7 separate regions of the Homo sapiens genome follow, and all the other regions are linked to region 2. The links are contacts of gene promoters, found by promoter capture Hi-C in human tissues and cell types (Jung and others, 2019). All regions are on one chromosome and are shown on one strand. Each heading gives the region's core, a stretch centred on a gene start or on the middle of the fragment in contact. The rest is flanking DNA. Distances are from core to core; before and after follow the strand shown. Region 1 overlaps DIP2A (disco interacting protein 2 homolog A). Region 2 holds the start of FTCD (formimidoyltransferase cyclodeaminase). Region 3 overlaps PRMT2 (protein arginine methyltransferase 2). Region 4 overlaps DIP2A (disco interacting protein 2 homolog A). Region 5 overlaps DIP2A (disco interacting protein 2 homolog A). Region 6 overlaps PRMT2 (protein arginine methyltransferase 2). Region 7 has its middle 12 kb from the start of S100B.

Region 1 (3,834 bases), core at 796-3,295, 320 kb before region 2:
ACCTGTACACAATTGTTTATAGCCACTTTATTCTTAATCACCAAAAAACTAGAAACAACCCAGATGTCAAGTGAATGAAGAGACTGTGACGTAACCATACTATGGAAAACTACTCAGCAATAAAGAGGAACAGACTATTGATACTTGCAAAAGTGTGAATAAATTTCAAAATACATTACGCTGAAAGAAGAAAGCCATTCTCGAAAGGTTACATGCTATATGATTCCATTTATATGACATTTCGGAAAAGATAAACCCATAAGGATAGGGAATAGATCAGCTGGGGGACCGGGAGACTGCAAAGGGATAATATGAGGAGTGTTTGGGGATGATGGTGCTGTTCTTTTTCTTGTTTGGTCTTTTATTATGTTTTAGAGTCAGGGTCTCGCTCTGCCACCTAGGCTGGAGTGCAGTGGCATAGCTTACTGCAGCCTCCAACTTCTGGGCTCAAGCAAATCAGCTTTCCGGAGTCTGAAAGGAGTGTCTGACAAAGAAGTACTTCAGGCAGTTAGCAGCTGGGTGACTCCACAATGGACCAAGTGTGGCTAAGGAAGAAGCACCCCAACAGGGCATGACACAATGGCTGGGAGCCCCAAGGGCCCGGCAGGTTCCAATCCAGTACAGTACAGTCTGCCTTTGGTCAGGTCACTTTTACCGCCTCCAAGGTGGGCACCAGCCAGAAATCAGATACACACCAGAGACCTTGGACCCAAGTGAGCTGGACACAGCTGCCAGTGTTTATTCCTTTGGAAAGGTATTGGCCTTTCCCTTGCTGCCAAAGAACGGGTCCAAAGAGTCCACTAGGTCCCAACTTGGGCCACACAAGCTTACCCAGGATCCCAAGGCAAGGTCTCTGTGCCATGGCAGCTGGGAAAGCCCACAGCTGCCACGACTAGACAGGTCCTACTGGAGGTGCCGACACAGAGCAGGAGGAAACAATAAAATGAGGGATGATCCACACCTGATATGGTCTGGCTCTGTGTCCTCCCCACTCAAATCTCACTTTGAATTGTAATAATCCCCACGTGTCATGGGAGGGACCCAGTGGGAGGTAACTGAATCACGGGGGCAGGTTTTTCCCCATGCTGTTCTCCGGATAGTAAGTCTCACAAGATCTGATGGTTTTATAAAAGGACAGTTCCCCTGCACACGCCCTCTTGCCTGCCACCACGTAGGACGTCCCTTTGCTTTCTTCATCTTCTGCCATGATTGTGAGGCCTCCCCAGCCATGTGGAACTGTGTGTCCATTAAACCTCTTTCCTTTATAAATTACCAAGTCTCGGTTACGTGTTTGTTAGCAGCATGAGAACAGACTAATACAATACCTGACCATAATAAAACTTGAAAACAGATGCCACACAAAAAAAAAAAAAAATACAGGCAGTCTCCAAGCTCGTGACACAGAACAAAAGGTGAGGAAAATCTGTGAAGAGTAATATTTTGCACGGTGGCACCATTCACTGGTAACAGTCGTTCTTAATATAAGCACGTAGAGATTTCACTTTCCAAGCCTTAAAGTTTCCAAACACAGGGGTCTTAAATATACAGATCTAATACACAAAAGTAGAGCCTATCTGACTGCAATTTAAATTATTTATGCAGCCAAGCATGGTGGCTCACATCTGTAATCCCAGCACTTTGGGAGGCCAAGGTGGGAGGACTGCTTGAGCCCAAGAGTTAGAAGCCACCTTGGGCAACATAAAGAGACCCTGTCTCTACAAAAAAAGAAAAAAAACCAATTAGCTGGCTGTGGTGGCACATGCCTATAGTCCTAAGCTACTAGGGAGGCTGAGGTGAGAAGATTGCTTGAGCCCAGGAGTTCGAGGCTGCGGTGAGCTATGATCGCACCACTGCACTCCAGCTTGAATAGCAGAATGAGACCTTAAAAAAAAATAAGCAAATTATTATGCTTAACGCTGAAGAGTATAGATATGCTTCCACAGCAGTGTTTGAATGTCCACTGTCTCATTCATTTGTAATTAAAAGCGGGCTTTTTAAATGTGTAGTAAATATTTTATCTCAGTTTTTAATAAAATATGAAAAATATGTTCATTAAACTGAATACATACACACACATAGGAACTCCATTTATGGCACTGACAAAATTATAGCACTCAGACCAACTCTTCCAATGGGAACAACTAAAAAGATCACATTAAAGTTTTTCTTTAAATCTGAAGACATTACAGAAGTGAAGAACTGAGGGCCAAGTGAAGTCAAAAAGTAATCACCAAGTAGCTGAACTGAGTGGAACTTGGACAGACTCAGAGAGGCAGGAGCTCATCACGGACGAGGTGCCCTGGAAAGCATCCCAGGTTGTTTGTTGGGACTCAGAAGGACCACACCTTGGGTATGAACTAAAAATAGAGCAGCACTCATAAGGACTGGAGCCAGTTTCAAATCACTTTCTCTCTATATAGATTAAAGTGATCTTGGACTGCATCTATTCCCAACCTATCTACCTACCAGATGCAAAAGTAAGCCCTTTGTGGTCACAAATGATCACTATATAGACAATGTCTGGCATTTGATCAGAAGTAATTAGGCACATATGGCAGCAAGAAACTATGACTAAAATCCATGAGAAACAATAATAGAAAGCTATAGAAAATGGAACTTTAGAATAACCATAATCAATATGTTTAGGGAATTAAAAAGCAGGATTGTGAATTTAAAAAAAAAAACATAAATTCTAGGACTGAAAAATACTGTATCTCAAATCCAGGAATAAATTTAATGAAAGGTGTGCAAGACCACTACCCAGAAACTAACAACATTATAAAAACATTACTGAGATAAATTAAAGACCTAAAGAAATGAAAGGATATACCACATTCATGAATCTGAAGACTCAATACTGTGAAGTGTAATTTCTCTCCAAGTGGATCACAAGAGTCAGCCTGAGTAATTCTTGAAAGTTTTGCCAGGCGTGGTGGCTCACGCCTGTAATCCCAGCACTTTGGGAGGCCGAGGCAGGCAGATCACCTGAGGTCCGGAGTTCGAGACCAGCCTGACCAACATGGAGAAACCCTATCTCTACTAAAAATACAAAATTAGCCAAGCATGGTGGCACATGCCTGTAATCCCAGCTACTCGGGAGGCTGAGGCAGGAGAATGGCTTGAACCCAGGAGGCGGAGGTTGCTGTGAGCCGGGATCGCGCCATTGCACTCCAGCCTGGGCAACAAGAGCGAAACTCCCTCTCAAAAAAAAAAAAAATTCTTGAAAGTTTCTTGCATAGAAATTGACAAGCTGATTCCAAAGTATATAGGGAAATACAAAGGGCCAAGATTAGCTAAATCAAGCTTGAAAAACAAAATAAAATTAAAAGGGCAGACTTTACCAGATATGAAGACAGAATGGAGCAGGTGCTAAGATAAGCAAGTAGAACAACACAGCAGAAATCAGTCCGAAGCAGCAGGGGAAGGATAGCCTCTTCCAAATGTTCTGAGTCAACTGATTACCCAACTGCAATAGAAATGAAATCACTCTTCCCTCACACCACGCATGAAATTAAATTCCAGGTGAATTACGCATCTAAATGTGAAAGATGGCCGGGCGTGGTGGCTCACGCCTGTATCCCAACACTTTGGGAGGCCAAGGCAGGTGGATCACCTGAGGTCAGGAATTCGTGACCAGCCTGGCCAACATGGCAAAACCCTGCCTCTACCAAAAAAAAAACAAAACAAAAAAATTAGCTGGGTGTGATGGTGCGTTCCTGTAATCCCAGCTACTCAGGAGGCTGAGGCAGGAGAATCACTTGAACCAGGGAGGCGGAGGTTGCAGTGAGCCGAGATAGTGGCACTGTACTCCAGCCTGGGCGACAGGACAAGACT
Region 2 (3,886 bases), core at 784-3,283:
CCTGGCTGGGGAACTCTGTGTGCTCCCAGCCTCTGAAGGTTTCTGGGCTTACCTGGCTCCTGTCTCATCCCAGTCCCCCTGAGTAGCCACGGAGGTGGGGTCCCTAAGGCCCACATGGTTGGGGTTCCATTAAGAACTTCAAGTGGGTGGCTCACGCCTGTAATCCCAGCACTTTGGGAGACCGAGGTGGGTGGATCATGAGGTCAAGAGATCGAGACCATCCTGGCCAACATGGTGAAACCCCATCTCTACTAAAAATACAAAAAATTAGCTGGGTGTGGTAGCGGGTGCCTGTAGTCCCAGCTACTCTGGAGGCTGAGGCAGGAGAATGGCGTGAACCCGGGAGGCAGAGCTTGCAGTGAGCCAAGATCGCACCACTGCACTCCAGCCTGGGCGACAGAGCGAGACCCTGTCTCAAAAAAAAAAAAAAAAAAAAAAAAGAACTTCAAGTGGGGCTGGGCTCAGTGGCTCACACTTGTAATTCCAGCACTTTGGGAGGCCGAGGCAGGAGGATCGCTTGAGCCCAGGAGTTTGAGACCAGCCTGGGCAACGTGGTGAGACCTCATGTGTATTTGTCTGATAAAGACATACGCAAGACTGGGTAATTTTTAAAGAAAAAGCAGTTTAATGGACTCAACAGTTCCACAATCATGGTGGAAGGTGAAAGAGGAGCAAAGTCACGTCTTACAAGAGGGTGTGTGCAGGGGAACTGCCCTTTATAAAACCATCGGATCTCGTGAGACCATTCACTATCACAAAAACAGCACCGGAAAAAGCCGCCCCCGTGATTCAGTGACCTCCCACCGGGTCCCTCCCATGACGTGGGAACTATGGGCTCTACAATTCAAGATGAGATTTAGGTGGGGACACAGCCAAACCATATCACCATGTCTACCAAAAATGGAAAAGTTAGCCAGTGTAGTGGTGTGTGCCTGTGGCCCAGATGCTCAGGAGGCTAAGGTGAAAGGACCTCTTGAGCCTGGGGACCAAGGCTGCAGGAAGCCATGATTGTGCCGCTGCACTCCAGCCTGGCTGACAGAGTGAGACTTTGTCTCAAAAAAAAAAAAAAGAGAAAATGATAAAAGCACTGCAAGTGGGCAGCGGCTGAACGTGGAGACAGGAGTTCTCCCTTCTGAGCACGGCCCTGGTGCCGCTGACTTCGTGGGGAGCCTGTAGTCAGGGGAGCAGCAGCTGGGGAGAGCTGGGGTCTCAGCTGCCTTCCCCCATATCGCACATGCCCGTCTCGTGTGTATCTGCACTCTCACACGCGTGTTCCCCTGCCCTGCGCTCACATGTATCTGCACTCACTCTCACATGCTTGCTTCCCCTGCCCCATGCTCACGTGTACCTGCACTCTCACACGTGTGCTCCCCTACCCCACACTCACATGTATCCTCGCTCACTCTCACACGTGTTCCCCTGTCCTGTGCTCACATGTATCCACGCTCTCACACATGTGCTCCCCTGCCTTGTGCTCACGTGTATCTGCACTCTCACGTGTTCCCCTGCCCTGCCCTCACGTGTATCCTCACTCACTCTCACACGCGTGCTCCCCTGCACTCTCCTGTCTGAGCTGAGCTGACCTCAGTTGGGTGCTGCGAGCCAGGGCCTCATGCTGGCCTCTCGCCCTCCACAGCCCCAGGGGTCCAGGCTCCTCCAGGAACAAACGCAGGCCCCACGGGCTGCCTGGAAGGCCTCCCAGAAGGCAGCACAGGGTCACGAGGGTCACCCGCAGTGGCACAGGGAGGCCTCGTCACGACAGGATTCCAGCCAGGCTGGCCTGATGCTCCTGGGGGTCCTCGGCACATGCCCCTTCACCCTGGCATGTGCTTCTTTTCCGGGAACCCACACTCTGGCTGAGTGGAGCCATCCCCTCTGGGTCAACAGCACCCGGGGTGGCTCTGCAGCACCCCACTCCGCGGCTGCACAGGGACCTTGGCCCCACTGCTCCTTGTGCCTTGCTGGTTAATGAGAAGCCGGTGGGGAGGTGCTGCCGGTGAGCGTATAAAGGCCCTGGCGGCGGCTGCGGAGCACTGGCCCTGTCCTTCCATCTGCCCAGAGAGGAGCATCTGGATCAAGGTGCTGGCCATGTCCCAGCTGGTGGAATGCGTCCCCAACTTTTCGGAGGGGAAGAACCAGGAGGTGAGGCCCGAGGAGCTGGTCAAGCATCTAGGGCTGATGGGGCAGCTTGAGTGGCTAAGGCCCAGGCCATGGAGGAGGTGGTGGGCTTGGTGTCCCGGGTCGTCTTCCCAGGATGGGCAGAGCCGCTGCCCGTGGGCCCCAAGGACATCCCGTGGCTCAGGGCCCTGGGGAGTGCCTGACCCAGGGGTGGGTGGAACACGACTGGTGCTTGTGGGGGCTGAGGCTTGGCTGTGGCTTCAGGGGCCTTTCGGGTGCTTTCGGTGGGGGGTTGGGCAGATCTCTGGGCCTCAAAGGGCCTTGGTGCTCCCCCCTGAAAATGGGGCTCCTGCCACTGACTGAAAGGGCTGTGTGAGGCCACACGAGGTGGCCCAGCATGGTCCCCACTGCCGCCTCTCCATCTCCACTGGAGTTAGCTTGCTGAGCCCCCACCCTGCAGCCACCATCCTCACTGGACCCAAAACGAAGTAGGCACAGAGGGGGCAGCAGGCCCCCAGGTCCGGCCTCTCGCCTTCCACAGCCCTGAGGTCCAGGCTCCTCCGGGAACAAACGCAGGCCCTAAGGGCCACCTGGAAGGCCTCCCAGAGCGCAGCACCAGGCCACAGGGGTCACCCGCAGGGGTGCAGGGAGGCCTCGTCATGCCGGGATTCCAGCCAGCACCAAGGCCCTGGGACAGGGCAAGATTTGGGGCTGAGCCCCTGCTCCCAGCAGTCCTGCCACCCGGAAGGTTCTAGGCCCTTCAGGCCCCTCCCCCATGCTGGTGATCTGTCCCTCCCCTGCTCGGGGGTGGGGGTCCCGGCCCCTCTGTGACCTGCGCCTGTGGTCACCTTCTTGGATCCCCGGCCACGTCTCTGGCATCTGTCTGTCGGAGCAGAGCCCGTGAGTCTCTCCTGGAGGCACCACCTGCAGCCCCTTGTGGGGACTGTGCTTGGGCTGGAGTGACTGTGGCTGCTGTGAGGGTTCCCGGGCGGCCGCTGTGTGCGGGCACTTTCGGTGGGAGCTCAGCTTGTCGGAGAGCCCCCAAAGGCTTGGCCCGCCTCCTCAGCCCCCATTTGTGTCTCGGGGTGCAGCCACCTCCAAGCTCCTTTTCCTTCTTTCAAACGGGGAGACTGAGGTGTGGGGGCCGGGCCTGTGTCCCAGGTGATCGACGCCATCTCTGGAGCCATCACACAGACCCCGGGCTGCGTGCTGCTGGATGTGGACGCAGGCCCTTCCACCAACCGCACCGTGTACACCTTCGTGGGGCCGCCGGAGTGCGTGGTGGAGGGGGCCCTCAACGCTGCCCGGGTAGCTTCCCGACTTATCGACATGAGCAGGCACCAAGGTGAGGTCTCTGGGCTCTCCTGTGGCTGCCGTGTCTCAGAATGTCAGGGCCGAGCCCTGTCCTGGTGTCCTGGGAGAGGGGGTAGGCCCGGGGCCCAGGCTTGGAACGTGGGGTCCAGTGGGGCTGGCTCTGGCTCTCCTAGGAGGACCCTGGAGTGTGGGGGTCATGGCCCCCATCCTGCCTGCAGGGCTGTGCTCTGGGGGACCCCCAGGTCGCCACGCTCCCACAGCACCGGGCCACCTTCACGGCTGGGTGGGGGGAGGGGGCCACGCCGGGGAAGGTTTGTGGGCCCCGTCCACCTGCCCACTCGTCAAGGGGGCTGAGAGCCAGTCTTGGAGCAGGCACTGGTGGGGGAAGGGCTGCCTGGAAGCTGACCTGTCAACAGCCCACAAGCCAAACACCTCGGTGGGCAGGCAGGGCCAA
Region 3 (2,700 bases), core at 1-2,500, 480 kb before region 2:
CCACCTCCCAAGCTAAAGCAATCCTCCTACCTCAGCCTCTCAAGTAGCTGGGACTACTCTTGGTACAATATAGATACTATTTCACATCTCAAGAAATTGTTTTACAAACATATTGTTTTCCCAGTTATCTTGTTTATGATCAGCGCCTCAAGAGTCAGGTCAACAGAAATTTTCCAAACTGAAGCACAAAATGAAAAAAAAAATAAGAATAGAGCATGAGACATGTCAAACAGCAGCAAAAATTCTAACTTATGTTTACATGGAGACCCCAAAAAAGAAGACAGAAGATGAGGCAGAAAAAAATAAATGAAGAGATAATGGTGGAGATTTTTCCAAAATTAAAAAAAAAAAACCATCAAGGCCAAGGTGGGCAGATCACCTGAGATCAGAAGTTTGAGACCAGCCTGGCCAAGATGGTGAAACCCCGTCTCTACTAAAAATACAAAAAATTAGCCGGGCGTGGTGGTGGTCACCTGTAGTCCCAGCTACTCGGGAGGCTGAGGCAGGAGAATGGTGTGAACCCAGGAGGCGGAGCTTGCAGTGAGCCGAGATCGCATCACTGCACTCCAGCCTGGGCGACAGAGCGAGACTCCGTCTCAAAAAAAAAAAAAAAAAAAAATGTAGGCAAAACACATTTCATAGTTTGACACAGCAGACTCACACTAGTAAATATAAACATAAAGTTGTCAGGTTGAAGGGAAATGATCCTACATGAAAACACAGAATGCAAGAAAAAGGGAAAGACCTCAAAAAAGGCAAATAATATGTGGGGAAACATAAAAAAGACTATTTATTTTACTTCATAAAAAAAGACTCGATAGCGTAAAGCAATAATGATAATTTATTGTGGCGTTTACAACATATGTAAAATTAAAATGTTACATCAACAGTACAAAAATATGGACGCTGGTAAATGAAACTAACTTCTAAGATCTTTACCTTATGAAGTAGTTAAAAAAAAGACTGAAATTGAATTAGGATGCATACTGCAATTTCTTGGGAAAACACTAAAACAATATAAAAAGATACAGCTAACAAGCTATTAAAGGAGGTAATATGGAATTATAGAAAATCCTTTATTTATCCACAAGAGGGCAGGAATGGAGACATGCAGGAAAAAGAAATGTGACAAACATAAAACAAACAGCAAAATGTTACACTTCATCACATTCGTCATAACATGAAGTGTTAATAGACTAAATACTCCAATTAAGAGGCAGAAATTGTGTTTAACAGAGAAACAAAAAAACAGACCTAAGAGCTAGACCCAACTAGCTCTTTACGAGAAAAACGCTTTAAATATAAGGACTTAAGTTGAGGGAAAAAAAATACACACACACACACACACAAACACACACACACACACACTTTATGTAAGCACTAATGATAAAAAAAAAAAGCTGGTACAGCTATATTAGCATTAAAAAAAAGGTACACGCAAGAAAAGAAGTATTTATTAACAGGTAAAAAGACAGATGTTTTATAAAAAATAAGGTCAATTAATCTAGAAAACAAAACCTATACTAAATATATACACCCAATAACAGGGACTCAAAATATACAAAGCAAAAAGTGATAGAACCAAAAGGAAAAATAGATATATCTACAATCATAGTGGAGAATTTTTAGTAACTGATAGAAGATGGCAAAAAAAATCAGAAAAGATATAGAGATTTCAACAATACTAATAACACATTTGATCTTCATGACATTTATAGAATGCTACACTCAACAACTGCAGAATACATAGTCTTTGCAAGTACTCATGGAACACTCACCAACATATTCCATATGATTAGAACATAAAGCAAGCCTGAATAAATTTCAAAAGACTGAAATTATAGAGGATGTTATGTTCTCTAACCAATGTAATCAAAGCAAAATTAAATAAGAAAAAGTAAAATTTCCAATATGTTTAGAAATTGGTCAACATACTTTCAAATAGCCCAGAAAACTTCTAATTTCCATTGAATATATTAGAAAATATTTTGAAGAATGAAAATGCATTTAAATATGTGAGGTACAGCTACAGCAGTGATTAGAGGAAAGTCATAGCTTTAAAGACTATTAAAGAAAGGTTTAAAATCAATTATCTAAGCTTCCCTCTCAGATGTTATAAAAATTAACCCAAATACAACAGAATGAAATAAAGACAAAAGCAGAAATCAATGAAATAGAAAAACAGAGAAATCAACACAGATAAAATTGGTTCTTTATAAAAATAAAATTGATAAAACCCTAAGAAAAGATTGATCAAGTGTGAAAAAAAGAGATAAAACACAAATTACCATTATAAGACATCTCTTCTATAATGGAGGGTGGTATTAACAGGATGAACACAAGTATTACTGAAATACTACCATGACCAGTCAGCAAAATTGAAATAACAAAATACCATTTCTAACCCATGAGACTGACCAAAACTTAAAAGTCTGATACTGTCAAGTGTTAGTAAGCACTATTGTGGGCTACTGACAGACCTGTGAACTCGTAAAGTCATTGTGGGGAACAACTGATCATTATCCAGTAAAACTGAAACTTGCAATCCCTTGCACCCTGCAATGCCATTACTGGAGCACAGAGGCATGGAGACGGATGGTCACTACAGCATTGTTTGAAATAGAAAAAACTAGAAACAATTTAAGTGTCCAACAAAAAGGGAATAAGTAAAATGGGGTATATGCCTACTGTGTAGCAGTG
Region 4 (4,079 bases), core at 1,365-3,864, 360 kb before region 2:
GTTAAAGGATTATTTTCAGTTGGATAGAATAATGCTGAAGGTTTGAGCAAGTTGTGGAAGGTTTGTGAAAAATTAATCTTGTAAAAGAAATTGTGTGTGAACACACTGGCCTAAAGTTAAAGGGGTATTATTCAGTTTTTCCATAAATTGAATACTGGAATAAAAGCACAACAGTTTTCTTGGAGCATGAATCTGCTCTTTAACAAAAAGTGTAAAGGGTTATAAAAGGTTTATGAGAATCTTACCTTATGGTTGAATAGATTTGTCTACAAGGTTTTATTAAGAATTGGGTTTGACATCAATAATGCGCTAATGCAATGGTGAAATTTTGCTTTCTCCCTTGAGCAGGATTTTTATATTAAAAAAATAATGAAAGATGGCTGGGTGTAATGGCTCATGCCTGTAATCCCAGCAATTTGGGAGGCCAGGGCAGGCAGATCACTTGAGGTCAGGAGTTTGAGATAAGCCTGGCCAACATGGTGAAAACCGGTCTCTACTAAAAATACAAAAATTAGCCAGGCATGGTGGTGCACACCTGTAGTCCCAGCTACTCAGGAGGCTGGGGCAGAAGAATTGCTTGAACCCAGGAGGCGGAGGTTGCAGTGAGCCGAGATCACGCCACTGCACTTCAACCTGGGTGACAGAGTGAGACTCCGTCTCAGGAAAAAAAAAGAAAAGAAAACAAAGATTTTTGTTTGCCTTTTGAATAAACTATAGGAAAAAGAAGGGAAAGAAAGGAGACAGATTATTTGGAAAGCTAAGTCTTCCTTCTATTAATGAGTAAAGGATTTTGCCTTTTAAAAATTTTTGAGTTATCATTTTGGGTAAATGAATGACTTATGGTGACCTGGGATTCTATTTTGTAATATCAAGCGTTTAAACCTTTAATATTTGACAAACTTTCCAACATCATACTCTAAATTCTGCCTTTTCCTGACCTAATTAATCTTTTAGATATTAGGTCCTCTCAAGTCCAAAAAATGACATATTCAGCTTATTTGGTATAAAAATCACACAGCAAGCACTGTCAGATATGAAATGATGCGTGGCTTTCTTTGGGCTATATTTGTATAAATATGTTATTGGTTTGTGTTCCAAAATCGTGTGAAACTTCTATAACTCTGATATGACAGTACATGTTATTAATATAATTGGTATGTTAAATTGTTCCATGTCACAGAAGTAATCAAAATTCCTAGTCAATTGTGGCTTTTGTAGAGGCTGCCCTAAGGCATTCTGTCATCCATACAAAATTGTTGTCTTGTTTGGGTCCTCTTTAGAAGGTGGTTTTATAATCAACTAGAGAACTCTAACAGGTGTTTTTGAATGCAGGTTTCTGATAACTTTGGAGGTTGCGACATTAGAATAGAGGAAAAACTTTCAGGACTCTCATGGAGAGCCAAAATGTTCATGAATATCGAACAGGAGTTAACTGCATGAGCTGAACTAATAGGACTAACAGAACTAATAGAAGACAGAAGTAACTTGTTTTGACATGAGCTGAACTAATAGGACTAATAGAACCAGTAGAAAACAGAAGTAACTTGTTTTGACTTTTTGCTTAAATTGTTGCTGATTCTTTGTTTTGTTTTTCAGAGCCAAGAAAACTTCTCTTTTGAGCTATTTACAGCTTTTAACAATTGAGTAAAGTAGAGAGAAACAAGAGAGATGGGTAATGTAAAAATCTGGATCAGGCTGGGTGCGGTGGCTCATGCCTGTAATCCCAGCACTTGAGGAGGCCGAGATGGGTGTATCACAAGGTCAGGAGATCGAGACCGTCCTGGCTAACATGGTGAAACCCCGTCTCTACTAAAAATACAAAACATTAGCCGGGCGTGGTGGCGGGTGCCTGTAGTCCCAGCTACTTGGGAGGCTGAGGCAGGAGAATGGCGTGAACCCTGGAGGCGGAGCTTGCAGTGAGCCGAGATCGCACCACTGCACTCCAGCCTGAGCAGCAGAGCAAGACTCCATCTCAAAAAAAAAAAAAAAAAAAAAAAAAAAAAAAAAAAAATCTAGATCAATATTCTAATTCTGGGCACACTGGAATCAGCTAGCAATCCCATATCATCTTAGTTCCAACAGTTACCCAGTTCATGAAAATCCCTATTTAATTTACTTGGGATAATTTTACTTATTTTGTTTTACTGTTGTGGAATATATTGCTGTTGTACTCTGTGTAGGAATGCAGGATAAGCTTACTCAATGTTTTCTTAAACTGAACACTTATTAATCTTCCAGATACCAAATTTTCTTGGCGTTATGAATGGCCCTCACCATACTGATGCTTTCTGACTTAGCTCCTTTCTTTCTCAAATATAAAAGACCCTAATAGTTAGGCAGGAATGTCATCACTCCTGTTCAGCCTGAAGAAGTTATAGAAGATGAATCTTTGTCCCTCTACAACCTTTAGAATTAAGGCTTCTCTCATAAAACAGAGAGGGGAAATATGTCAGAGGCGTTTAAACCAGAGCAACTCCATCTTGAATAGGGGCTAGGTAAAATAAGGCTGAGATCTGCTGGGCTGCACCCCCAGAAGTTAGGCATTCTAAGTCACAGGATGAGATAGGAGGTCGGCACAAGATACAGGTCATAAAGACCTTACTGATAAAACAGCATGTGTGGTGAAGAAGCTGGCCAAGTCCCCGCAAATGAAGATGGCAATGTAAGTGACCTCTGGTTGAACTCACTGCTCATTATATACTACTTACAATGATTGGCATGCTAAAAGACACTCCCACCAGTGCCATGACAGTTTACAGCAGCCATGGCAACGTCAGGAAGTTATCCTAGATGGTCTAAAATGGGAGGAACCCTCAGTTCCAGAAACTGCCCACCCCTTTCCCAGAAAATTTATGAATAATCCACCCCTTGTTTAGCATATAGTCAAGAAATAACTCTAAGTATTCTTAGTCCAGCAGCCCAAGCTGCTGGTCTGCCTATGGAGTAGCCATTCTTTTATTCCTTTGCTTTCTTAATAAACTTGTTTTCATTTTATTTACATATACTTCTTGAGACAGGGTCTCGCTCTGTCACTTAGGCTGCAGTGCAGCGGTGCAATCTTGGCTCACTGTAACCTCCACCTCCTGGGTTCAAGCAATTCTCATGCCTCAGCCTCCCGAGTAGCTGGGACTATAGGCGCATGCCACCACACCCGGCTGATTTTTGTATTTTTAGTAGAGACAGGCTTTTGCCATGTTGGCCAGGCTGGTCTCAAACTCCTAGCCTCAAGTGATTCACCCATCTCAGCCTCCCAAAGTGCTGGGAGTATAGATGTAAGCCACCGTGCCCAGCCGTTCACTACAGAAAAAATGTGTAAAAGATTCAAGGGGTACTTAACAAAAGAGCAAGTTAAAATGACAGGAAAGATCTCAATCTATTTAGTTATCAGTAAAATGCACATTAAAACCACAATGAAATACCACCATATTCTCACGAGAGTAGCTAAAATTCATAAGCCTGACAATACCAAGTGCTGATAATGATGGGGAGCAGGTAGGGCCCACCCACACTGATGGGCCAAGGGTGAACTGGAGAACGGTGATGCCATCTCAGCAATGTGAAGGTGCCCATAACCCTAGACCTAGTACTTCCACTCCTAAGTACTCAACCTTCAGAAACATATGCTTAGCTACCACGTGGCACACACCAGAATCTTCCTGGGAGCACTGTTTCTAGTAGCTAAAACTGGATACAGCCCATGTATTCCAGCAACAGCATAATGCTTAAGTAAATTCTGATATATTCATTCCTCAACAGAAATAAATGAATTACAACTACCCGCAATAACATGGATGAATTTTAAAAGCACAATGGTGGAAGACTCTGCTTCCGAGTAGGAGAGGGTACTGGTGGCAGACCAGCACTCCTGCCTAAGATGAGTTTAAAAACTGAATAAAATGCAGAAATGATCTTTTGGAGGCAGCAAGTTGCTGCTCAGCAAAGACAACTAGAGGAGTTAAGATTCCAGAGAGGGAAAACCCTCCGGAAAGTGAGCTGAGCTGCAGCTGTCTTTACGCTGTCCATGTTCAGGGATTCCAGCCCCCACGGGGGGCTGAGTATCCACCTGGAGCAGTCCCACC
Region 5 (3,596 bases), core at 167-2,666, 350 kb before region 2:
CGGCCTCCTGAAGTGCTGGGATTACAGGTGTGATCCACCGCGCCTGGCCACAATCAAGTTCTTAAAGTAGAATTGGTGTAACATTTAAAAACAGACATTAGATCTGGAACATATGTAAAAGTCACTCCTTCCATTGTCTGAATGTACATTTTTGTGTTTTATTTCCATGGTACAGTCCATCTATCTGTTCAGAATGCTGGCTGACTGTAAGTTCCTATAGGAATTATGGTTATAATTGGGTCTACCACTAGGAAAGGCACTGTGTCTATATGACTATAGAAATTGTGTTCTACCACAACAATGAATACACAGATGCTCGCCCATTTATAAGAATCAACATAGGGGCCAACATGGTAGCTCACACCTGTAATCCCAGCAATTTGGAAGGTCAAGGCGGGCAGATCAGCTGAGGTCAGGAGTTCGAGAATGGCCTGGCCAACACGGTGAAACCCTGTCTCTACTAAAAATACAAAAATTATCCAGGCGTGGTGGTGCATGCCTGTAATCCCAGCTACTCGGGAGGCTGAGGCAGGAGAATCGCTTGAACCCGGGAGGTGGAGGTTGCAGTGAGCCAAGATTGCACCACTGCACTCCAGCCTGGGGGACAGAGTGAGACCCTGTCACAAAAAAAAAAAAAAAAAAAAAAAAAAAATCAACACTAGCTGTGCAGTGGCTCACACTTATAATCCCAGCACTTTGGGAGGCTGAGGCAGGAGGATCACTTGAGCCCAGGAATTTGAGATCAGCCTGGGCAACATAGTGAGCTCCCATCTCTTAAAAAAAAAAATTAGCTGGGCATGGTGGTGGACACCTGTGGTCCCAGCTACTTAGGAGGCTGAGGTGAAAGGACCACTGGAGCCCAGAAGTTCCAGGTTACAGTGAGCTAGGACCATACCGCTGCACTCTAGCCCGGGCCACAGAGTGAGATCTTATCTCCAAAAAAATAAATAAATAAACACTAGTCTATGTTAGGTAGAGACAACTGGTAATGTTTAATATTTTAATGAAGGTACCTGTTAGTATCACTGTGGTACTCCTAGGTACAATGTAAAGCAGTAACTTTTTACTAGGTTTGTAGAAAGCTGAAGTATATGAAAGCACAAACTCACTGTCTGCATAGCAGAATATACCTTTTGAAAAAATCTAAACCGTTAAGATTTTTCACAACCCTTGAAAAAGCCTGATGCTGATCAAATTAGCATTTTAAAGTATGTCTATCAGGAGGTTCTTTTAGTTTAAAAAGAAATTTCCCCACTCTTCCAAATCTAGCAAAAAGAATAAATGATTTTAAAAGTATATATGGAAAAAAAGGTATACATGGTATACATACATGTACTACAAGTAGTTTTTTAAAACAGCTATATAATGGCTGGGAGCAGTGGCTCATTCCTATAATCCTAACATTTTGAAAGGCCAAGGCATGAGGATCACTTGAGCCCAGGAGTTCAAGCCCAGTCTGGGCAACACAGTAAAAACTCCATCTTTCCAAAAAATTTTTAAAAATTAGCTAGGCATGCTGGCATTTGCCTATAGTCCCAGCTGCTCAGGAGGCTAAGGTGGGAGAATTTCTTAAGCCCAGGAGTTCAAGGCTGCAGTGACCTATGATCATGCCACTGTACTCCAGCGTGGGTGACAGAGCAAGACCCTGTCTCTAGGTGGAAAAATAAAAAAAAAAGCTGCATAAAAATAAACATAAACTACATTCAAAATAAAAATAAGCTACTATAATTAAAAGAAGCTACTATAATTAAAAGTACTGCTTTTAAAAATAGGTATTTACATTTGTATAAAAAAGGCTTAATGTATTTGATTTCCTTAATCCAAAACTGAAAGTGATATATTTTTAAAAATTATCTTTACCTGATATGTTCTACCTCGAATTTTTTACTTAATATATTCTTCCTCTTTTCATGTTTCTTTCCTTAGTTTAAATTGAAGACACATCTAGTGTTAGAAACTAAAACAAAGGATGATTTCTGTCATAAGAGGGAAGTTGAGTATTTTTGAGATTTAGAAATTCAAATTAACTATGTCCAACATTTAGGATGTGGGTAGCTACAATCTGTAGAAAATTGCAATCCTGTAAGCAAAGTATTAAATCAAGTCCAAGTTAAGAATTTTTTTTAAATGTATTAGAATTGATCACAAAATGTTGATGCTAGGACTAACAAGAAAGGAAGAGATGATTACAGCTGCATCTGCAGGAGTCAGGAGCTGTCTTCCACCAACATAGGTAATAAACCTACATTATAAATAATTGCAGCCAAGTCCTTTTCAGAGAATGAAAACATCTAATTCAAACACACATTAGAGTTCAATGCTTTGCTTAAAGACACCCCACAATCACTGGAAAGTTGAGGGCTGTACGGTTAAACATTCTGAACTGTGGCTAATTTTTCATGCTGAATAAGCTTTTATTTCTAACCCACCCGGAAACAGTGTTGAGATGACTCAGCAATGGCTAATAAACTCAAACTACAAATGTTTTGTTTGCTCTCCTGCACCATCTCACCTAGAAAGGAGCTTCTGGGAGAAGAAATGAGGTAACAGAACATTTAAAACTACTGTTTTCCTGCCCCTGCCTCAGAATTGGAGTTAACTATGTATTTCTACAAAGTTAAATCACCAACGATGAACAGAGAAGGCAAACAACAGTGCAAAAGCTGTTTTCAAGATATGGACTGTACACCACCTTGAGGAAAGGTGGGCAGCAGCCTCTGGCCATGGAACACCCAGGAAAGCTACAGAAACAATCTGAGCAGGCTGTTTTCCTAAGAGAAACTTTCTCTGTGGAAAATGCTGCCTGCTGCTACCCTTGTAGTCTTGGCAGTTCCTTTATGAGCTGGAAGCAGTGTGGAGACAGAGCAGGGCACTGTGAGCTTTCATCTGAGACGGACGCCTCAGAAGAAGGACACATGTTCAATGGAAACACAAGAGATGTGCTGACTCAAACAAACAAAAACATGAAGAGCAACAGTGATGCACACTACAGAGGATGATGAGACAGAAGCTGTGGGCCACCCAACATACCCAACTTGCCCCCAGTCCAGCCAAATGACCGAGGTCTTACAAAAAAGAGCTCGGCACCCATGGGGACCCCAGCACAAACACCAGCGTGTCACAGGTGTCACCTTTCAGTTTTGGCAGAAAAGCAACAAAAAGCAAAGAAAATGAATAGGAATCAAGAAAACTGGTATCAGCCCTGGCTTCACCACTTAAGGCTGCTGTCTGATCTCAAGCAAGTTACAATCGCTGGACTTTTTTTTCTTCCTTCCTCATCTGGGAAAAAAAGGAGGGGATTAAGATGAGTCTTCAACAATACTGATTGTATTTTAAGGTACTTGTGCAAGAGTGTATGTGGGTTTCACATGCCAGCTACATACAGCTAACTATGCTGCTGTTTTAGTTAAAAAATAGAATTTCAAAGGATGAAAGGTTTACACTTTTTTCATCTCTAAGATGAATGTAATTTAAAGGATTCCATGATTTGGGAAAGATCCATGCATCATATGATTAGCTCTGACTGACACCTTTTCAGGCCAAAGGCTGTCTAACCTGGTATCTGGAGGAGCGAAAGCCCTCTACCCCAACCTCAG
Region 6 (3,978 bases), core at 510-3,009, 510 kb before region 2:
GGCCCTCGGGGCGCTGACTCAGGCTCGCACTGGCTCTCGCCCCCAACAGCACCCACACAGCCGGCAGTCCACCCTGAGGGCCTGGGGACACAAAGCTTGGCTTTTCAGGCTAACTCAGGGAACATATACACCCCCAGCCCTGTGATCTAAAGGGACTCTATGGGATACACTGGGATCAAAGTTACGCTAGTGAGACAGATCCTGCCAATGCCAAACACAAGCTTGCTCCTGAGACCACTCAGATTCCAGGAGGTGTGGACGGCTCACCCTGGGTGGCCCAGAGGATGCGGGAGCTCAGGGGACACACAGCTGCACTAAAGGTCCCGTGTGGTGTCGACTCCCCGGCCCGCCAGGAGGACGGCTGTGCAACCCCTTCCTGCACCCTTGCCTAAGCTGCAGAGGCTGGTGATCTAGCTCCTGCTGTTAAACTGTGGTGTACACAGACAGAATCAGGTCCAAGGAGTCGCTTCTGTGAAGGTTACAAGGTGAGGACAACTGTCACATTTGGGGGGAAATAGTAAAACGCTATGATTCTGCACTGGGTTGCGTTGGAAACATCTCTAAGTTCCTCAGGCTCTGTCTTCCCTCAAACTCCCACTGTCCACGGTGGGGCCAGCAGTGAAGTGGGGGGCTCCTCAGGTCTCCAGTTTTTCCCTGACTCTGGTCACACCCCTCACCCCAGCCTGTGCCCCAGGTCACTGCCCCCTCCACGCCCCCAGACTCGGGGATGGGTATAACTGGCCTCCAAGCTGCCCACCTCCACCCGGTGATGGCACTGGAGGGGCCACCACAGGACTCTTGTGATGGGGACCACATGCCAGGCCAGGCCATCAACCCCGCACCTCTGCGACCTCCCTGGAGCCGGGGTCCCCTCGCGGGGCCACCACGCTGGGAAGTCAGCGGGGCAGGTGCCAGAGCGGGGTAGCCAACCCCACCCAAAGGGAAGGCCTGCAGGGCCCTGAAGGCAGCTCCACTGCCACACATGCCCAGGGTGCTGGCGGGGAAATGTGTCCCAAAAAACAGGCACCTCCAAAAACGTCAGGTGAACCCCGACGCCCCGTGGAGGCGCTTTGGGTCAGACCATGAAGAGCTGTGGTGCTCCTCGCGGGGTGGAAGACAGGGAGCTCCTCCCGTTGGGGCTGTTGTCGGAGGGACGCCCAGGCTGGGCCCAGAGTGGTGGCGAGACCCGGAAGGGGGCACACAGGCTGCGGTGTCTACACCACCCGTGCCCCCATGCGCGCCGCCCCCACCCCACTGCCCGCGCCCCCACGTGCCCCACCCCCCCACGACCGCCACGCCGCGTCCCACCCCCTCCTGCGCGCCCCATCCCCGCACCCCGCCTACTCCCCTGCCCCCCACCCCGCACCCCGTGCCCGCGCCCCGCACACTCACGGGTGGAAGGGCCCGGTGCTGAGCACCTGCGGCGGCTGCCCCTCCTGCAGGCTCTGGAAGTGGACGCTAAACCAGGCCGTGAAGCCGTGCAGGGTCCCCGCCTTCCTGATGTCGAAGCGCAGCTCGCCCCTCAGGGTCTGGGTCAAGCAGATGACAAGGCACGCGTGGGCACCGCGTGGCACCGCAGGGCCCGGGTTGGGGCGGCCCCCTCCACGCGCCCCGCGCAGACGCTGAATGCGTCAGGAACCGTAGAAAAGCCCCCCAGCCTGGGGAAACCACCCCCAAAACCCGCATCGTGAGTTCAGAGGCTTCAGTCAGAAACGTTTCAAGCATCTGAGCTTCTTGCGCCCAATTTTCTACCCCAGATTCTGCGGAATCTTTTCGGCGCTCAGCTCTTCCAGTTAAGGAGTTGGAGAGCTCCAGGCTGGGCCTTTCCACAGCAGAACGAACTAAAAACCAAAGCGCGCCGGCGCCACCGCGCCCGCCCCATCTCCAGACGCGGCGCCAGCTGGGGCGCCAGGCAGGGCGGGGGCGCGGGGAAACCGCCCAGAGCCCACGAGCGCCACCGCGCGGCCACAGACAGGGATTCACGGAGGGAATTCTAACGATTCTGTCATGAAGAGTGGCTTAAAATACTTGAAAAAAACTGTAATGCAAATACCATAATGAAACGAAATATAATTTATTTGATTTTGAAGATGCTGAGAATATTAAACATAAATCTAAAATGAAGACGCTGGAGACATAAAATGGTGTACAATATGAAAGAATCAAAATAGAACGTAAAAAAGAAAAAAGACTGGAAAAAATCAGTAGCAAACGTTTTATAAATTCACTTATTTGCATAATAAAATAATTAGTTATTCACTCACACCCCCAGCACTCACTGAAGGTTTTTGATAAGCCAGGCTCTGGTCTGAGTGTTTCGTGGTCACTGATTATCGAATGTAAGGAGCAATTCATCTTTTTCTCACCTCTAGATCAGAAATTTGCACGGTTCTCATGTCCAACTGCAATATAGTGCACGGTTCAGAGAGACAGTCTTCTGGTTTCAAAATGTGGTTATACTTGGGCTTTGAAAAAAACTCCTTAACTGCTAAAGATCTAGGGGAAAAGGTCAAAGCGACTGTTGAGAGTCATTGCAAACATCTTAGGCTTCAAAACACACACGTGGGACCGCGGTGAGTGCTCTCCCTTCTGTGTCACCAGGATGCTAAGCCACTATCTGGGGCCCTGGAACCCCAGAGCAGCCCTCAGGCCTCCACAGGCCCTGGGTGCCTCCCGCTCTGAGAAGACCCAGACTCTACCCAGGCATCCAGAGACTTCCTGAGCCTGACCTGGAGGCATTAAGGAGCCTGCCAGTCACTGGGCGCTTCCCTGTGAGGTCTCATTCATGGGATCTGAGCACACGGAAACCAACGCTCACCCCTCATAACCCAGAGGACAAGGGGAGTTGCAGCGTGTCTTGCCTAGTTTTAGAATGTATTTGATTTCAAAATCTTTTGTGGATCTTCTATTAACAGTAAATGAACGCGGTATTCCTGCTGTAGGTTACTCTATAATAAACGAAAGGAACTAGAAGGGCTGAGGTGGCCTGAGTGAGTCTGAGTTTCAGGAGAAATACTTGCTCTGTTGCTACACAAATTCAACACAGAAACAGACACTAGACGCCGCATGGCCCCTGCATGTCACCGTTTGCCAACCCCCATCACTGGCTGCACTAGGCTTGTAAGTCACCGATTATTTACCACAGAAATGTTGTAAAAAATAAGCAAAGCAGTAACTTCTGAAATAGCAAATAAAAGTGAATGTTTTAATAAAGATTCCACTATATTTACACATTTATTTTTCTGATAAAAAATTACAAATTTAAAAATTGGAAACTATGGACAAGTATAAAGAAAAGCTTAAATTCCCCATATGCCTGTCTTAGCATTGTGATATACTTATTTTTATCCCCCAGACATATTTATATAAATTTATTTATGCAAGCAAACATCCATTCTGTATACACGGTTTATTCTGCCAAGCTTTACTGTCTCTTAAACCCTTTCTAAATATCATTACATATCCCTAAAAACCTATGGTTTCTTTTTTAACAGACACACAGCAGTGCTCCACCAGATGGATATACAGCAATTCAATCACGTTCCTCTGGACGGCCACTGGCTTCCAGTGCCGGGAGGAACACTCAGGTGGGAGGCTCTGGCAGTGACTGGGGTGGGCAGCCTGATGCCAACCTCTAAGGCCCTGGCAGCCACACCTCCCTGCCACTGCCAGGCAAGCCTGGGCTACTATTTTAATTTACTCTTTGCTTGTCTGGTAGGGAAAACAGCATGTATTTTAATTCGCATTTTAACTACTAACAACATTATAATTTTTCATATATTTATTGGTAATTTTATTTATTTTTTGCGGTTTGCCTGTTCACATGATTGGGCTGCAATTCCATCTGGCTAGTCATCTCTTTCTAATTGATTCCAAGACCTGACAGCACGTGATTTCTCTAATTACTTGTTTGCTTTTACAATCGTGTTTTTGCTGATTTCTGCCACATAGACTGCCAGATTCTATCTAGCCCAGGGT
Region 7 (4,085 bases), core at 1-2,500, 460 kb before region 2:
GAAAGAGAGAAAGGAACAGAAGCAATATGTGAAGCAATAATGACTGAGAATTTCCCCAAGATTAATGTGAGACACCAAATCACAGCTCCAGGAAGCTCAGAGAACACAAATAGGATAAATGCCCTTCCCCCAAAACTAGGCATATCACATTCAAGCTTCACAAAATCATAGTTAAAGGAAAAATCTCAAAAGAAACCAGAGAAAATAAACACGTTACCATAGAGAAGCAAGATAAAAATTACATCTAACTTCTCCTGAAAAACTATGCAAGCGAGAAGAAGATGGAATGAAATAGAGTCATATATCACTTAATGATGGGGATACATACTGAGAAATGTTTCATTAGGCAATTTTGTCCTTACGCAAACATCATACAGTGCAGTTACACAAACCTAGCTGGTACAGCCTGCTATATACCTAGGCTGTATGATACAGCCTGTTGCTTCTAGGTTACAAACTTGTCCAATATGTTACTACTGGATACCGTAGGCAATGAAACACAATAGTAAGTATTTTTATGTCTAAACATAGAAACAGTACAGTAAAAATATGATATAAAAGATTTTTAATGATATACCCATATAAGGCATTTACGATGAACAGAGTTTGCAGAACTGGAAGTTGTTCTGGGTGAGTTAGTGCTTGAGTGGTGAGTGAGTGTGAATGCCCAGGACATTACTGTACTCTACTGCAGACTTATAAGCATTTCTGTACTCTACTGTAGGCTTGCAAGCATTACTGTACTCTACTGCAGACTTATAAGCACCACTGTACTCTACTGTAGGCTTATAAGCACTGTACACTTAAGCTGTGCTAAATTTATTTATTTATTTATTTTAGAGACAAGGTCTCGCTGCATTGCCCAGGCTGTTCTTGAACTCCAGGCTGTTCTGAACTCAAGCAATCTTCCTGCCTCGGCCTCCCAAGGTGCTAGGATTAGAAGCTTAAGCCTCTGCAGCCAGTCATACATTAAATTTATTTTAAAATATTTAAAATATCCTTGCCGGGCATGGTGGTTTAAGTCTGTAATCTCAGCACTTTGGGAGGCCGAGGTGGGTGGATCACTTGAGGTCAGGAGTTCGAGACCAGACTGGCCAACATGGTCAAACCCCGTCTCTACTAAAAATACAAAAATTAGCCAGGTTTGGTTGCGCATGCTTGTAATCCCAGCTGCTTGGGAGGCTGAGGCAGGAGAATCGCTTGAATTTGGGAGGTGGAGGTTGTAGTGAGCCAAGATTGCACCACTGCACTCCAGCCTGGGCAACTGAGCAAGACTCTGTCACAAAAACAAAAACAAAACAAAATTATTCTTTCTTCAATAATAAATTAAACTTAGCTTACCATAACTTATTTACTTTATAAACTTTTTTTCTCATTGACTCATTTGTAATAACACTTAGCTTAAAATACAAACACATCGTATAGCTATACAAAAATATTTTCTTTCTTTATATCTTTAATCTATAAGCTTGTTTCCATTTTTAACAATTTTTAAATTTTTTACTTTTTAAACTCTTTTTTTAACTGAAACACAAACACATTAGCCTAAGCCTACACAGGTCAGAACCATCAATATCACTGTCTTCCACCTCTACATCACATCTTTTCCCCCTGGAAGGTCTTCAAGGACAATGAGACATATGGAGCTGTCATTCTCTATGATAACGGCACCTTGTTCTAGAATATGTCCCAAAGGACCTGCTCGAGGCTATTTTACTGGTAACTAACTGTTAACTAACTTTACATAGATAGATAGATAGATGATAGATAGATAGATAGATAGATAGATAGATAGATAGATAGATAGAAAGAGTACCATCTAAAATAATAAAATGTATTGTATAGTAAATACATAAACCAGTAAGATGGTCATTTATGATCATTGTCAAGTATTACGTATCGTACATAATTTGATGTACTATACTTTTATGTGACTGGTAGCACAGTAGGTTTGTTTATACCACTATAACCACAGACACATGAGTAATGCATTGCACTACAATGTTTTGATGGCTACAACATCACTAGGCAATAGAAATTTTTCAGTTCCATTATAATCTATGAGGCTACCATCGCATATGCAATCTGCCATTGACCAAAATGTTGTTACATGACACATGGTTATATTTAAAGTGTTGTAAAAATAAACCCTCTGATATGGTTTGGCTGTGTTCCCACCCATATCTCATCTTGTATTGTAATCCCCATGTGTCATGGGAAGGACCTGGTGGGAAGTAATTAAATCATAGGGGGCAGTTACCTCCACGCTGCTGTTCTCAAGATAGTGAGTGAGTTCTCATGAGATCTGAAGGTTTTATAAGGGGCTTTTTCCTCTTTTGTTCGGCACTTCTCCTTGCTGCCTCCATGTGAAGAAGGATGTGTTTGCTTCCCCTTCTGCCATGGTTGTAAGTTTCCTGAGGCCTCCCCAGCCATGCTAAACTGTGAGTCAATTAAACCTCTTTCCTTTATAAATTACCCAGTCTCAGGTATGTCTTTATTAGCAGTGTAAGAACAGACTAATACACCCACCAACCTAGAATTCTGCGGTCTGCAAAACTGTCCTTCAAAAGTAAAGGAGAAATAGACTTTCTAAGACAAACAAACATTGTTGCTAATAAATCTGAAGAAATGTTAAAAGAAGTTCTCCAGAGAAAGGAAAAATGATATTTTAGAAACTCAGGTCTAAGCTAACATCATGATGACAGGATCAAATCCACACATATTAATACTAACCTTGAATGTAAATGGGCTAAATCCCCACTTAAAGGACTCAGAGTGGCAAGCTCAATAAAGAACCAAGACCCAATAGTATGCTGTCATCAAGAAACCCATCTCACATGCAGTGACACCCACTGGCTCAAAATAAAGGGATGGGTAAAAATCTACCAAGCAAATGGAAAACTGAAAAAAGTAGGAGTTGCAATCCTAATTTCAGGCAAAAAAGATTTTAAACCAACAAAACTCAAAAAAGACAAAGAAGGGCATACAAAATGCTAAAGGGTTCAGTTCAACAGGAAGACCTAACTATCCTAAATATATATATATATATATATATATACACACACACACACACACATATCTATACCAAGCACAGGAGCACCCAGATTCATAAAGCAAGTTCTTAGAGCACTTCAAAGAGACTTAACACTCCCACACAATAATAGTGGGAGACTTCAACACCCTGCTGACAGTACTAGACAGATCATTGAGGCAGAAAATTACCAAAGATATTCAGGACCTAAACTCAGCACTGGAGTAAATGGACCTGATAGACATCTACAGAACTCTCCACCCTAAAGCAACAGAATAGACATTCTTGTCATCACCACATGCACATACTCTAAAATCAACCACATAATAAGACATAAAACACTCCTCAGCAAGTGCAAAAGAACTAAAATCATAACAACCACTCTCTTGGACCACAGCACAAGAAAATTGCTCAAGGCCAGGTGGGGTGGCTTACGCCTATAATCTCAACACTTTGGGAAGCTGAGGCGGATGGATCACTTTAGGTCAAAAGTTTAAGACCAGCCTGTCCAACATGGTGAAACCCTGTCTCTACTAAAAATACAAAAATGAGCCAGGTATGGTGGCACATGCCTGTAATCCCAGCTACTCAGGAGGCTGAGGTGGGAAGATTGCTTGAACCCAGGAGGTGGAGGTTGCAGTGAGCCGAGATTGCCTCTCTGCACTCCAGCCTGGGTGATGGACTAAAACTCCATCTCAAAAAAAGAAAAAGAAAGAAAGAAAATTGCTCAAAACCATGCAATTATATGAAAATTGAATAACCTGCTCCTGAATGACCTTTGGGTAAATAAAGAAATTAAGGCAGAAATCAAGAAGTTCTTTGAAACTAATAAAAACAAAGGTACAACATACTAGACTCTCTTGGACACAGCTAAGGCAGTGTTAAGAGGGAAATTTTTAGCAATAAATGTCCACATCAAAAAGTTAGAATGCTTGCAATCAAACAACCTAACACCGCAACTAAAAGAACTAGAGAACCAAGAGCAAATCAACCCCAAAACTAGCAGAAGACAAGATATAACCAAAATCAGAGCTGAACTGAAGGAGACTGAGAC

The links. Contacts are between HindIII fragments. The study calls those that stand out against the background at their distance.
Region 1: a contact is called between a fragment that was not itself captured here and the fragment with the promoter of FTCD in region 2, in 2 of the 25 tissues and cell types used here (lymphoblastoid cells and mesenchymal stem cells).
Region 3: a fragment that was not itself captured here is called in contact with the fragment with the promoter of FTCD in region 2 in 2 of the 25 tissues and cell types used here (dorsolateral prefrontal cortex and lymphoblastoid cells).
Region 4: a fragment that was not itself captured here is called in contact with the fragment with the promoter of FTCD in region 2 in 1 of the 25 tissues and cell types used here (lymphoblastoid cells).
Region 5: a contact is called between a fragment that was not itself captured here and the fragment with the promoter of FTCD in region 2, in 1 of the 25 tissues and cell types used here (lymphoblastoid cells).
Region 6: a fragment that was not itself captured here is called in contact with the fragment with the promoter of FTCD in region 2 in 2 of the 25 tissues and cell types used here (lymphoblastoid cells and spleen).
Region 7: a contact is called between a fragment that was not itself captured here and the fragment with the promoter of FTCD in region 2, in 4 of the 25 tissues and cell types used here (dorsolateral prefrontal cortex, hippocampus, lymphoblastoid cells and 1 more).

Annotation. Positions count from the first base shown.
Region 1 is chr21:46,477,599-46,481,432 of GRCh38, reverse strand. The region is part of intron 1 of DIP2A (disco interacting protein 2 homolog A); the gene reads right to left. Among named protein-coding and RNA genes, the nearest start is that of DIP2A-IT1, 17 kb to the right of the region's middle. The HindIII fragment of the contact is 3,471 bases long and covers 310-3,780 here.
Region 2 is chr21:46,153,726-46,157,611 of GRCh38, reverse strand. It overlaps FTCD (formimidoyltransferase cyclodeaminase), which reads left to right and starts at 2,033. Exons shown (of 14, transcript NM_206965.2): 1 at 2,033-2,142; 2 at 3,280-3,463. The coding sequence starts at 2,089. RefSeq lists enhancers at 2,260-2,963, 2,964-3,667, 3,668-3,886. The HindIII fragment of the contact is 26,017 bases long and covers 1-3,886 here.
Region 3 is chr21:46,638,358-46,641,057 of GRCh38, reverse strand. All of the region lies in intron 3 of PRMT2 (protein arginine methyltransferase 2), which reads right to left. Among named protein-coding and RNA genes, the nearest start is that of PRMT2, 4.0 kb to the right of the region's middle. The HindIII fragment of the contact is 4,299 bases long and covers 1-2,700 here.
Region 4 is chr21:46,517,788-46,521,866 of GRCh38, reverse strand. The region is part of intron 8 of DIP2A (disco interacting protein 2 homolog A); the gene reads right to left. Among named protein-coding and RNA genes, the nearest start is that of DIP2A-IT1, 57 kb to the right of the region's middle. The HindIII fragment of the contact is 7,528 bases long and covers 1-4,079 here.
Region 5 is chr21:46,499,494-46,503,089 of GRCh38, reverse strand. The region is part of intron 5 of DIP2A (disco interacting protein 2 homolog A); the gene reads right to left. Among named protein-coding and RNA genes, the nearest start is that of DIP2A-IT1, 39 kb to the right of the region's middle. RefSeq lists an enhancer at 2,519-2,658. The HindIII fragment of the contact is 5,234 bases long and covers 1-3,596 here.
Region 6 is chr21:46,659,351-46,663,328 of GRCh38, reverse strand. It overlaps PRMT2 (protein arginine methyltransferase 2), which reads right to left. Exons shown (of 12, transcript NM_206962.4): 9 at 2,367-2,496; 10 at 1,393-1,529. Among named protein-coding and RNA genes, the nearest start is that of PRMT2, 26 kb to the right of the region's middle. RefSeq lists an enhancer at 1,774-1,823 and a silencer at 1,924-2,033. The HindIII fragment of the contact is 3,202 bases long and covers 159-3,360 here.
Region 7 is chr21:46,615,495-46,619,579 of GRCh38, reverse strand. No RefSeq gene overlaps it. Among named protein-coding and RNA genes, the nearest start is that of S100B, 12 kb to the right of the region's middle. The HindIII fragment of the contact is 3,662 bases long and covers 1-3,081 here.